Linked DNA regions of Homo sapiens: region 2 is linked to region 1. Evidence: promoter capture Hi-C in human tissues and cell types (Jung and others, 2019). All regions are on one chromosome and are shown on one strand. Each heading gives the region's core, a stretch centred on a gene start or on the middle of the fragment in contact. The rest is flanking DNA. Distances are from core to core; before and after follow the strand shown. Region 1 holds the start of SLC9A3 (solute carrier family 9 member A3). Region 2 holds the start of LOC105374607 (a long non-coding RNA gene).

Region 1 (5,800 bases), core at 1,189-3,688:
GCACAGTGGGTTGAGGGGACGACAGGGAGCGTAAAGGGCAGGTCTGGAGAGGGTCTGCGCCTGTGGGATACCGCGATGAGCTCCCACAGCTGCACAGGGTAAGGCTCGCCTTCCCAGGTGGAGCCAACAATCCGAGACAAAGACAGCCGCTGAGTGCTATCAGGGTGGGCCTTTGTAAAGGACCGCCCTGCCCCGGGGAGTTGCTGCTGGAGCCGGCAGCCTCCCCGCCCTCAAGGACGTCTTCCCAGAACCAGTCCAAGTGTTTGGGAGACCTGAAGGCTTTTCCCTGTGAATAACAAACTCTGAGGCCAGGCAAAGCCCTGGTCAGTGTGCCTTATCTGCCGGCTCCCAGGCGGGGCTGGCTGGTGCCTGGCGGCTGTCATTGGACCTTCAGATGCCAGATTCTGACTCTGTACACTGGGCTAAACTGGGAGAGGCCCCAGCTTGTACAGAAATTAGATATTCACGGCCGGGCGCGGTGGCTCACGCCTGTCATCCCAGCACTTTGGGAGGCCGAGGCGGGTGGATCACCTGAGGTCTGGAGTTCAAGACCAGCCTGACCAACATGGAGAAACCCTGTCTGTACTAAAAATACAAATTAGCTGGGCGTGGTGGCTCATGCCTGTAATCCCAGCTACTCGGGAGGCTGAGGCAGGATGTGGAGGTTGCAGTGAGCCGAGATCGCGTCATTGCACTCCAGCCTGGGCAACAAGAGCAAAATTCTATCTCAAAAAAAAAAAAAAAAGAAAAAAAAAGAAATTACCTTTTCAGTTTACACCAGGGGGGCACTCCCGTCAGAGGAAAGCAGGGTGAGCTTTAGGACTGGGCGGCCGCAGAGCCCAGGTTGAGTCTGGACCTCCCTGATGCCCCAGGGGCCCTTCTCAAGGAAATCAACTGTAGGAGGCAGCCAGCCTCAGAGACTCCCCCCCGGCCAGCATCCCAAGCCCCCAGTGGAAAGCCCAGGGAGGACAGCCTGAGCCTGGAGAGCAGGCAGCCCGGCGGGGAGCTGAAAGACACCAGGGCGAGGAGGAGGCTGCGGAGAAGGGAGGAGGCGGGAGGGCTCAGAAGAGCCCTTATGAGACAGAAAGCAAACACACAAGGGGCCTGAAGGGGAGGGGAGACCCTGGCATAAATAGGGCAGGCGGCAGGCGTCACTGAAGGAAAAGGCGCCTTCTCCAATCAAGCCTGCTGGGCGTACCAGGTTCCACCAAGGCCAAGGTCCTCTCAGCTGTTCTCCCCGGAGCCTGTCCCTCCCCTGTCCTGCGTGGGCGCCCCTCCTCGGCCCCAGCATCGAAACCTCCTCTCGCCCCAGTCCAAAGCTGCTCTGGAAACCTGCCGCGGCGCCTGCTGCTCTGATCTTGCTTCTCCTGGCCCCACTCGGGCCCCCTAATCCCCCCTCCACACGAGTGACCACCTCCCTGCCACCCCTGGAGAGACCCTACCCTGTGGACCAACACATGAAACTTTGATCCCCACGAGCTCCTCAGGAAGCTGACCTTCCTGTCACCTTGCCAGGAGCTACCTGCCGTGCCCACATTACTGGTTCATTGGCGCCGGTTAAGAAGAAGAGAAATCTGACCGACCGGGATTTTCTAAAAAAAAAAAAAAAAAAGGAGGCCCGCCAATGGGAACGCTGCGCCTGTAGGGAGGATTCTGCTGGGTTTCATGCGGGTAGCACCGCTTTTCTTTTCTGCCCTTGTAACTCACGAAAAAACGCCATCACTCCAAGGACGTTTCTCTAAAAAGCCTGAGAACCCCGAAGGAAACCCGGCCCCGGGGACTCCCTGGGCGCGAGCAGCCTGCAGTCTGCGGGGCTCGGAGCGGAGGCGGGGCGGAGACCCCACAGGGACCCGGGAGCCGGGAGTCCGGGGCTCCGAGGCTGTGCCCCCGCCGGGGAGGGGAGACCTCGGGACCCGCAGGGGCGGCTTAGCGCGGCCAGAGTCGCTCCCGAGTCTCGCTCTGCTGGACCCGAGAGCCGGACTCTCCCGGGCGGCCGCCGCGCGGCTCCGACCTGATGCGCGCGGCCACAACGAAGCCCCCAGGCCCAGCAGAGGCGGCCGCACACCCCGCGGGCAGATCCGGAGACCCCGGGGCCACTTACCGATCTTGGCCAAGCTGGCCACGAGGATCCAGAGCGCGATGACGTAGGGATCCTGCACGTGGGCCCACTCGAAGGTGACCACCTGGAAGCCCCCGCTCTCGCCGTGCGCGCCGCCGGGCTCCACCTCGACGCCCCCGGCCCGCGCCAGCCCGCCCAGCGCCAGCGCCAGCAGCAGCCCCCGGTCGGGGCCCCGGGCCCCGAGTCCCCACATTGCCGCCTGCTCAGCGCAGGGCTGGGACGCGCATGTCGCGGGGGGTCCCGGCTGGGCTGGGCCGACGCGCGGGGCTGGGACCCGGCGAGGACCCGGCGCGCTCCGGTGCCGGTACCGGCTACAGTCCGATCCCCGCCCGCCGGGGTGGCCTTTAATCCCGCGGCCCCCTCCCGCCCCGGGGCGGAGCCTGCCCGCCCCCGCCGCGCACTCGCGAGCGCAGACACCGCCGCAGCTCCCGGCACGCCCGCCCCGCCCGCGCACGCCCACCCCGCGCTCCCTGGTGCCCACCCTCCCCCGGAGCCCGCGGCCTGGAGGTCCGGGAGGTCGCGGCAAGAGCGAGCCCGGGACTGCGCGGCCGCCTTCCTGGGGCGTGGGGAGCACAGCGCGGGGCAGCGGGACAGGCGGTTCCGCGCAGCTCCTGGGATGCCCGGGCAGCTGTGGGTGCGCTCGCCCCAACCCTCCTTCATAAACGCAGGGCCTGGGGCTGCGCAGACCCCACAGGGCGGCCCAAGGGTGCACAGGGGCCCCAGGTGTGTCTTCACACAGCCCCTCGCTATTGTCTTCAGCAGGAACCTGCATTCCACAGCCGGACCGGCCACTTACCAGAACTCGGGGGCGCCCAGGCCTTGCGTGGTGCGCTGGTAAGTCTCTCTGCCCCTCCCATCGCCAGCCAGCATCCCCCACCCCAGGCTCTGAGATGGGAGCCCAGGGGCCCCCGTGGTCTCCCCTGCCCCATCCCCTGCCTTTAGACCTCCGCCCAAAACAATTCGATACCCCCAGGGCTTCACACGGATGCGGGGCCTCTGCCCACAGCCCGCTCCGGCAGCACTGGCTCTCTTAAGCATCTCAGGCTCCACTGTGCAAACCACACCCCTGTTTTCCTCCAAGCCCACCCTGCAGCCTTCCAGCCCCAGACCTGGGACGCAGGTGGACTTCTTTCGCTCACAAGGTTTCCAAGCTCTTAGCATATCTGCTCTACTTTCAAAATGTGCACAAAACCAGCGGCTTCTGGGAGCCTGCAGCCACCTGCAAAGGCTCCTGCTCGGCCCTCTACCTGCCCCTTCAGTCCCTCCTATTGGGACCCTCCCTCTCAGAGGAAAGGCTCAACGTCTCCCGGGAGCTCAGACCCCAGCCACTGCCTGACCCCCACCCCCATGCACTCCACGGCCCACACCAGCAATCGGCGCCTCTCGGGGCCTTTGCACGCCCTGCTCCCTCTGTTTGGACGGCTCTTGTGTGCTCCCTTCCTCAGCTCCCCAGGGGCTTGGCTCCAATGCCACCTTCTGGTCCCACCCGATACCCACTCAGCTCACAACTGTGGCAGCTAAGCTCCCGCCTCCCCTGCTTACTCGGTTGGCTCCGGGAATCAGCTCACCTCCCAGCCCTGGGGGCTGCTGGCTTTGACCTTGAGCTGTCTGCCCTCACCCTGGGAATGTCTGCTCCACGAGCAAGGGGCTCATGCATACATCCCAGGAGCTTGGAAGATAGCTGGGCACACAATAGCACTCGCAAGATAGTGGCTGAGCGGATGGATGATAGATGGATGGAAGGACAGATAGGTGGACAAAGGGCAGGTGGGCGGTGGGGTGGGTGCAGATGGAGGATGGATGTGTCTTCTGACATCTGAGTGGGGGCTGCGGAGGCCTGAGGAGGACAGTGCTGAGTTCAATGACTTCACCCTGCAAGGGCCCCAGTTTCATGCTAATGGAAGTGGCCCGTGTAGCACAGGGAAGGTGCATTCAGATGGTGCTCGCCTGGTGACTCGGCTGCTGAGTGGCGTGGAGGGAGGGCAGCCCTGGCCTGGGCCACTGCAGGGTCTGGACAGGGCACCGGGGGAGTGGAAGTGTGTGACTGGCCACTAGTATGGTCTTGCGAGGTGGGAGCATCGGAGTCGCTCTTGGCCTGTGTCCCTGCCCCACCTGTCTCTGTCCCCCACTCCACTCCCAGCCTCTTGTCCCAGAGAAAAAGCCAGCAGGACAAGAACAGGATTCCCTCCAGTCCGGAGCTTCCCTGCTCTTTCCTTATGGTTCCTGGGTGGAGCCGTTAGGAACGACGTCCTCTCTGAAGATGTTGCCCTTGCATTCCACAGGAAGGCCAAATTTCCACCAGACCAGTGTGTTCCATGATGCCCACTGGACCTCCGGCCACCCCACCCCCCAACCAGCCTGTCCTAAGAGCCGACAACCTTTCTCCACAAAGCTGTTCAAAGGGCAGAAGAGCAGTGTCACTGCCTGGAAGGACAAATCCAGAACAGACACCAGTGCCAGGCGCTGGCCATCAGGTAGTGTGCTGCCCACACCTCCACTGCCCCCCACAGCAGGAAGGGCTGCCTCATGGAGAATAGAAAGGCAATGAGCCCCTGAAGTGGCGTGGCCAGAACAAGGCACACCCCACTGCCCACGAGTCCTGCCAGGGCACACCCCACTGCCCACGAGTCCCTGCACAGGTGAGAAGTGTGGCTGTTTGGCAGCATCTCAATCTGTGAGCATTTGGAGGATGAAATGCGTCTGCACTCCAAGGTTGCTGGAGGGCTCGGGGCAGACGGGCGCTGCCCCAGCCTGTGATGGGCATGGCCTTGAGGATGCCAGCCTCATGCAGAAGCCAGTCTAGGGGATTATACAGGGTGTGCACACCCACTCCCCTACCCTCGGACTGGAGCCACAAAACCCTCCCTCTAACTGGGTCGTGGTTTTAGGCAGGGCCGTGGCACCCCACCACTGCAGGGGCCACCATCCATATCAGGCAGACTGTATGAACCGTGCCCCTTGGAATTGTACAGTGCACAACCTGCACATCCTCATGGCCAAAAAGACCCAGAGACTTGTGTGTGTGTGTGAGGGGGTCTTGGGAAGTATCCTGAGAACATTCCTGTCCTGTGGGTGGTGACGATCTGATAACTGCCCGACCACTTCCTGCCTCAGGCAGGCACGCATAGCATTCTGGATCCTTCCACCGTGGCCTGGACCCCTTGTGGTCCAGGGACCCCCTGCACGTATGGGGAAGGGGCGTGGCTGTAAAACATTCAAAAATGTGGAAATAATGCAAAAGCCAGTCGGAAAACAACTGTAATCTTATACCCAGCTGCCACAGCATCTGAACTTCAGGATTAAGAAAATAAAACTGAAAACACCTAGTCTGTCACATTAATTTCCTGTCATGAATTCCACATACGGCTTGTGAAAGTGTCTTGTGGATGAAGAGGCGCATCCATTCATACTGTTGTTAACAATATTTAAGAGAAGAAAGTTAAGTTTTTAAGTAACTTCCAATGCTTGAAGCCAGGCAGGAGACAGGCATCACTGCCCACTCTAAGTTTATTTTTCAACCCAAAGTTGTCAGGGGCCAGGTCTTCTTAAGGAAGGTTTTATTCCACTGGGAGCCACACCTGCTGGCCTTCCCTTGGTCCACACCTGCTGTGTGCCAGGCACATCTCAGCTTCAGGCAAGAGGCCCCTCTGGGAGATGCCCTTCCAGGAAAGAGACCACCGC
Region 2 (5,800 bases), core at 2,025-4,524, 55 kb after region 1:
AGCACCACAGACCATACAATGGGTCATAAGATAAATCTCAAATGTTTCCAATAATTGAAATCACAGAGATGACATTCTCTGATCACAATGGAGTTAAAAGAGAAATCAATAATAATCATACATCTGGGGAAAAACACAAATATTTGCAAATTAAAGAAAACATCTAAATAACCTATGGGTCAAAAGAACCACAGGAGAAATTTGAAAATATTTCAAACAAATGATAGTGAGCACAAAACATATAAAAATCTGTAAGATTGTGTCTGGAGTTGGTTCCTTCCAGTGGGGTCTTTGTCTCACTGACTTCAAGAATGAAGCTGCGGACCTTTGCGGTGAGTGTTACCGCTCTTAAAGATGGTTTGTTCAGAATTTGTTCCTTCAGATGTGTCTGGAGTTTCTTCCTTCCGGTGGCTTCATGGTCTCGCTGACTTCAATAATGAAGCTGCGGACCTCTGCAGTGAGTGTTACAGCTCTTAAAGGTGGTGCGGACCCAATGAGTGAGCAGCACCAAGACTTATTGTGAAGAGTGAAAGAACAAAGCTTCCACAGTGTGGAAGGGGACCCGAATGAGTTGTTGCTGCTGGCTGGGGTGGCCAGCTTTTATTCCCTTGTTTGTCCCTGCCCACATCCTGCTAATTGGTCCATGTTATAGAGCGCTGATTGGTCCATTTTACAGAGCGCTGATTGGTCCATTTTACAGAGTGTTGATTGGTGCATTTACAATCCTTTAGCTAGACCCACAGTGCTGATTGGTGCATTTTTACAGAGTGCTGATTGGTGCATTTACAGTCCTTTAGCTAGACACAAGGCTGACAGGTGTGTTTTTACAGAGTGCTGATTGGTGCATTTACAACCCTTTAGCTAGATACAGAGTGCTGATTGGTGCATTTTTATAGAGTGCTGATTGGTGCACTTACAGTCCTTTAGCTAGACACAGAGCACTGATTTGGTGTTTGTTTACAATCCTCTAGCTAGACAGAAAAGTTCTCCAAGTCCCTACTCGACCCAGGAAGTCCAGCTGCTTCTCCTCTCAAGATGAGCTAAAAATAAGTTTAGAGGGGAGATAATAGCTGTAAGTGCTCACATTAGAAAAAAGATTTTCAAAGAAACGATCTAAGATTCCACTTTAAGAAGTTTTAAAAAGGTGAGCAAATTAAATCCAAAATAAGAGGGGACTAGAAGGAAAAAAATTATAAAGATGAGATACTAATGAATTATAAAACAAATAGAGAAGTCAATAAAGACAAAAGTTGTTTTTTGAAAAGGTTAATAAAACTGATAAAACTCTGACAAGACTGATCAAAGGAAAACTGCAATAATCAATTATCAATGCCAGGAGAAAAGAGATGACATCATTACAGACCCTACAGATGTTAACAGGAAATATCATAACATAACAAATGATTTTCTGCTGATAAATTTGAGAGCTTATGTAATAAATTTTTCTGAAAATAAAACTTACCAAAATTGACACAAAGTGGAATAGAAAACTTGAATATTCCCATATCTATTCAATAAATGAACTTGTTATTGAAAACTTTTCCAGAAAGACAACTCCAGAGCTAGATGATTTCAATGATGAATTTTATCAAATAGTCGATGAAACAACATAATGCAAATATTTAATAAAACATTTCAAAACTTGGGAGAAGGAAACAGAAGAGAACCATTCCTAGCTTTTTTATGAGGCCAGCTTAACTCTGATGTCAAAACCTGGCAAAGACATTATAAGATATGAAAATTACAGATCAGCATCCCTCATAAAGATAGATCCAAAAAACTGTAAACAAATTACTAGCAAACTGAACCCACAAACTTATAAAAAAAGATAATACATCATGACAAAGTAGGGTTTTTCCAGGAATGCAAGATGAGTTTGGTGTCTGAAAACCAAACCAATGTAACTCACCATATTGATGGAATAAAGGAGTAACCATATGAAACATCAATAGGAGCAGAAAGAGCTTCTAACGAAATTCAAAATCCATGTAAGATAGAAGCTCTTGGAAATCTAAGGCATCATGTAAAACCTACACCCACATCATACACAATGGTAAGATGCCAGGCACTTCTCCCCTAAGACCAGGGAGAAGGCAAGGAAGTGTACTCCATCTCCACAACACCTCTTACCCCAGGTTGTAGCCGGACAACAAAGGAAGGGAGAAAAAAGAAGAAAGATTGGTGGGGAGAAAGTAAAATTATCTCTAATCACAGATGATGCAATTATTTACAAGGAAAATTTTAAGGAGTCTTCAGAACTACTGGAACGAATGTGAGATTCACAGGGTCTCAGAACATAAGATCAGTAAACAAAAATCAGTTCTGTATCTATATACTAGCAGCAAATAATCTGAAAATAAAAATTTAAATTATTCAGTTTATAATACCATCAAAACCATAAAATACTTATGACTGAATTTAGCAAACGACATTATCTATAAAATGTCGCTGAAAGAAATTAAAGAGCTGAATAAATGGAGAGACAGCCTTCACGGATAAAAACATTCATTACGGTTATGATGTCAAGTTCTGCCCAGATTCAATTACATTTTCCACGCAATCCCAAATCCGATCCCAGCAGGTCTGAGATGAAGCTGGGGTGAGGGTGAGCAGAGAAGGGCTGAGTCCAGGATGGGGAGTGTCAGGGGACCTTGATTTTTAAAAACCAGTCCTTTGAGAAGAACAGCTCATGGTGCCAGGCAGCGTTGTAGCTCATCACGGCTCAGCCTGGCACATCAGGACTGTGGCCACCACCCTCACATAAGGACGCCGAGGCACCGAGAGGTCATGTGACCTGGCCAGAGCCGCACAGCCAGATGGAGGCTGAGCTATGCGGGGATGCCACAGTGTGCTGACTCCACACACACAAACGCCACCACTTACATTTTTATTTCCCCGTCACTGTCTTGTTTCTCAAAGGACTTGAGGCTCATAGCAGCACAGGTTCCTTAAGGAGGCTCATAGCAGTATAGGTAGGCAGCTGTGTTGAGCTCTCAGGGTGGAGAAAGCCTGGCTGATCTCCACCTGTGGCCTCTCTGTAAAGATCCAGGGTCCTCGGGGTGGCTGTGGCAGCATCTGAGACAGCCCTGGTGTGGGCTGCCTCAGATGCTGGCCTTGGCTCGGGGGTGATCCTGGCCTTGGCTCGGGGTGTGGTTCTGGGTGCTCCCTCCACAGCCCTCTTCTTGATGTGGCTTCAACCTGCCCCGTCCGGGTTTGGCCCCAGCTTCCCGTGAGCTCCAGGGTAATCCCTGTGCCGGCTATGATAGGGACATCTGACCTAGTGGCCTCCAAGTCCTCCCCTGCCCCAGGACTCCTCACTCAGTTCCGGGGAGCGCCGTGCGCCCTGTGCCTCCAGGCTGAGCAGAGTCGTTTGCTTGTAGGTGGCCTCGACCCTGTCTGGAGCTCCCTAACAGCAGCGGGGCCACAGCCCGGTTGTTCCCTCACACCCAAGGCAGAGCTGGGTACACAGCAGGTGCTCAAAGGTGGCTTCACTTTGCAAATAAGAATCTTCAGCAAAGCCCCAGGATCCCAGCAGGGGCCCGCCAGGGGTCCACCACATGAGAGCCCAGGTGTTAACTCAGTGTGTGAGCATCCTTTTAACATAATCCTTAAGTTGGTGGCAGAATTTCCTTCCCCAATAAGCTCTGCCGTGTTTTGAATTTCATCCTGCCTCCCAGTGTGTGTTTTAAAGATCTCTTTACATTTGCTCTGCCCGGGTAGGGTATTCATGTGATGCCAAGCCCAAGGCGTTTCCTTCTTTGCTCTTAATTCTTAAATTCTGCTGGTATTTAATATTTTCAACTTCCAAACCTTCACACGGGTATCTTTACTAATGTAGATCAGATTCATTTGTGTTCCTGGTTGCTACAGAATTAGAAAAACAGGAAGAGAATGAACAAAGTAACGCATCTCCGTGGCAGGTTCGGCAACCCTCAGTGTTCAAGTTTCAGCTGTGCACGGCAGGGCCTGTCTGTGGGATGTAGACATGAGCCGCCCAAGTCACAGCAGAAGGCGAGAGGATTCCGGACCTTTGCGGCCACAGCGAGGACATGGGTGGGAGGGGAAGCATGGGATTTGAGGAGGGTGAACACACACACACCATTAGTAGTTGTAAGTTTTCAGCACGTTTACATCCAAAGTCACTTTGTAAATTAGTAACTTTGTTATTGGAGGTAAATTTTCAAGCTGCTGGTTGGACCTGGCGTTTTGTTGTTGAAGCTCTAGATGGAGGCACAAGCAGCCGGAACTCAGGGACGAAACCCTCTGCCATTTTCAGTTGGTGAGGAAAACGAGCCACAGACAAAGGGAAATGCTGCTTGGTGCAAAAGGAAAACAAAATGAATACAGAGATGCGCGCATACCTGTTTCTGAAAGGAGGAATGAACAGCAAAACCTTGGCAGGGCCAACCTGGCCAGAGGCTGGGCAGGTGCTGCCGGTTTCTCTTCATGCCTCTCCAGGTTGAATCTCCTGGTCTCACCCACCTACCCTTGATTACTTTCTAAAGATATAAGCAGAAGTTTTATAAAGAGTGAGGTGCTGGTCTACTTTCTTTTCTCTTTGTACTTCTCTGAGTAAAGGACACTGAGTCAGCATCCCCACAAATGCTGAATGTATGTATATTGAGCCAGCATCCCCACAAAGGCTGAATGCACACTGAGCCAGCATCCCCACAAAGGCTGAATGCACACTGAGCCAGCATCCCCACAAAGGTTGAATGCATGCCAAGCCAGTATCCCCACAAACACTCAATGCACACCAAGCCAGCATCCCCATACACACTGAATCCATGTCGAGCCAGCACCGCCACAAACGCTGAATGCAACACACACCTCGGCTGGATGTTTGAAGCAGCCAGGAGTCTGCATTTCTGAGACGATGGGAAAAAGTGGATGTGGCCTGGGGATTGGCTGATGCGAGGGAATTGTGCTTGTTTGGGGCCTACTGTATTGGGCTCCATAGGAAACAGGCCTTATTCCTTAGAGACATCTGCTCTGCTGAGTTCCCCAGGGGTCTAATGGCGTGATGTCTATAAGCCAACGCGAGTCCCTCCACCAAGATAATAGGTGAAGTAAACACGGCCAAATGTGAGTGTGTTAGAAGGTGGTGAGGGGCGGCTGACTCTCTCTGCCTCCGTGTACGTTAGGAGTGTTCCATAATTAAAACTTTCTGATCAGGTGCAGTGGCTCATGCCTGTAATCCCAGCACTTCGGGAGGCAGAGGTGGGTGGATCATCTGAGGTCAGGAGTTCAAGACCAGCCTGACCAACATGGTGAAACCCCATCCCTACTAAAAATACAAAAATTAGCTAGTCTTGGTGGCGGGCACCTGTAATCCTAGCTACTTGGGAGGCGGAGGTGGGAGAATCACTTGAACCCGGGAAGCAGAGATTGCAGTGAGCTGAAATGGTGCCACTGCACTCCAGCCTGGGCAACACAGACTCCATCTCAAAACAAAACAACACAACTTTCTTTTGCCCTCTGCCCAGCAGATGCAGCCAGGCCCTGGCAGAGAGGCTGTCTCCCTCTGTCCCCTGGTTCCCTTGTGTTCAGAATTGGTTCCTTCCACCGGGTTCTTGGTCTCGCTGACTTCAAGAATGAAGCCGCGGACCCTTGCAGTAAGTGTTACAGTTCTTAAAGATGGTGTCCGGAGTTTGTTCCTTCAGAGGTTTAGACGTGTCTGGAGTTTTTTTTTCTTTCCGGTGGGTTAGCAGTCTCACTGACTTCAGGAGCGAAGCCACAGACCTTCACAGTGAGTGTTACATCTCTTAAAGGTGATGCTCATTCTTCCTGGTGGATTCGT

The links. Contacts are between HindIII fragments. The study calls those that stand out against the background at their distance.
Region 2: a contact is called between a fragment that was not itself captured here and the fragment with the promoter of SLC9A3 in region 1, in 2 of the 25 tissues and cell types used here (lymphoblastoid cells and thymus).

What each region holds. Positions count from the first base shown.
Region 1 is chr5:522,011-527,810 of GRCh38, forward strand. It overlaps SLC9A3 (solute carrier family 9 member A3), which reads right to left and starts at 2,439. Exons shown (of 17, transcript NM_004174.4): 1 at 2,102-2,439. The coding sequence starts at 2,312. LOC107986395 (a long non-coding RNA gene) reads left to right here and starts at 2,648. Exons shown (of 2, transcript XR_001742543.1): 1 at 2,648-2,953; 2 at 4,402-5,445. RefSeq lists an enhancer at 4,006-4,638. The HindIII fragment of the contact is 12,710 bases long and covers 1-5,800 here.
Region 2 is chr5:576,643-582,442 of GRCh38, forward strand. It overlaps LOC105374607 (a long non-coding RNA gene), which reads right to left and starts at 431. Exons shown (of 3, transcript XR_925671.1): 1 at 326-431. The HindIII fragment of the contact is 6,374 bases long and covers 88-5,800 here.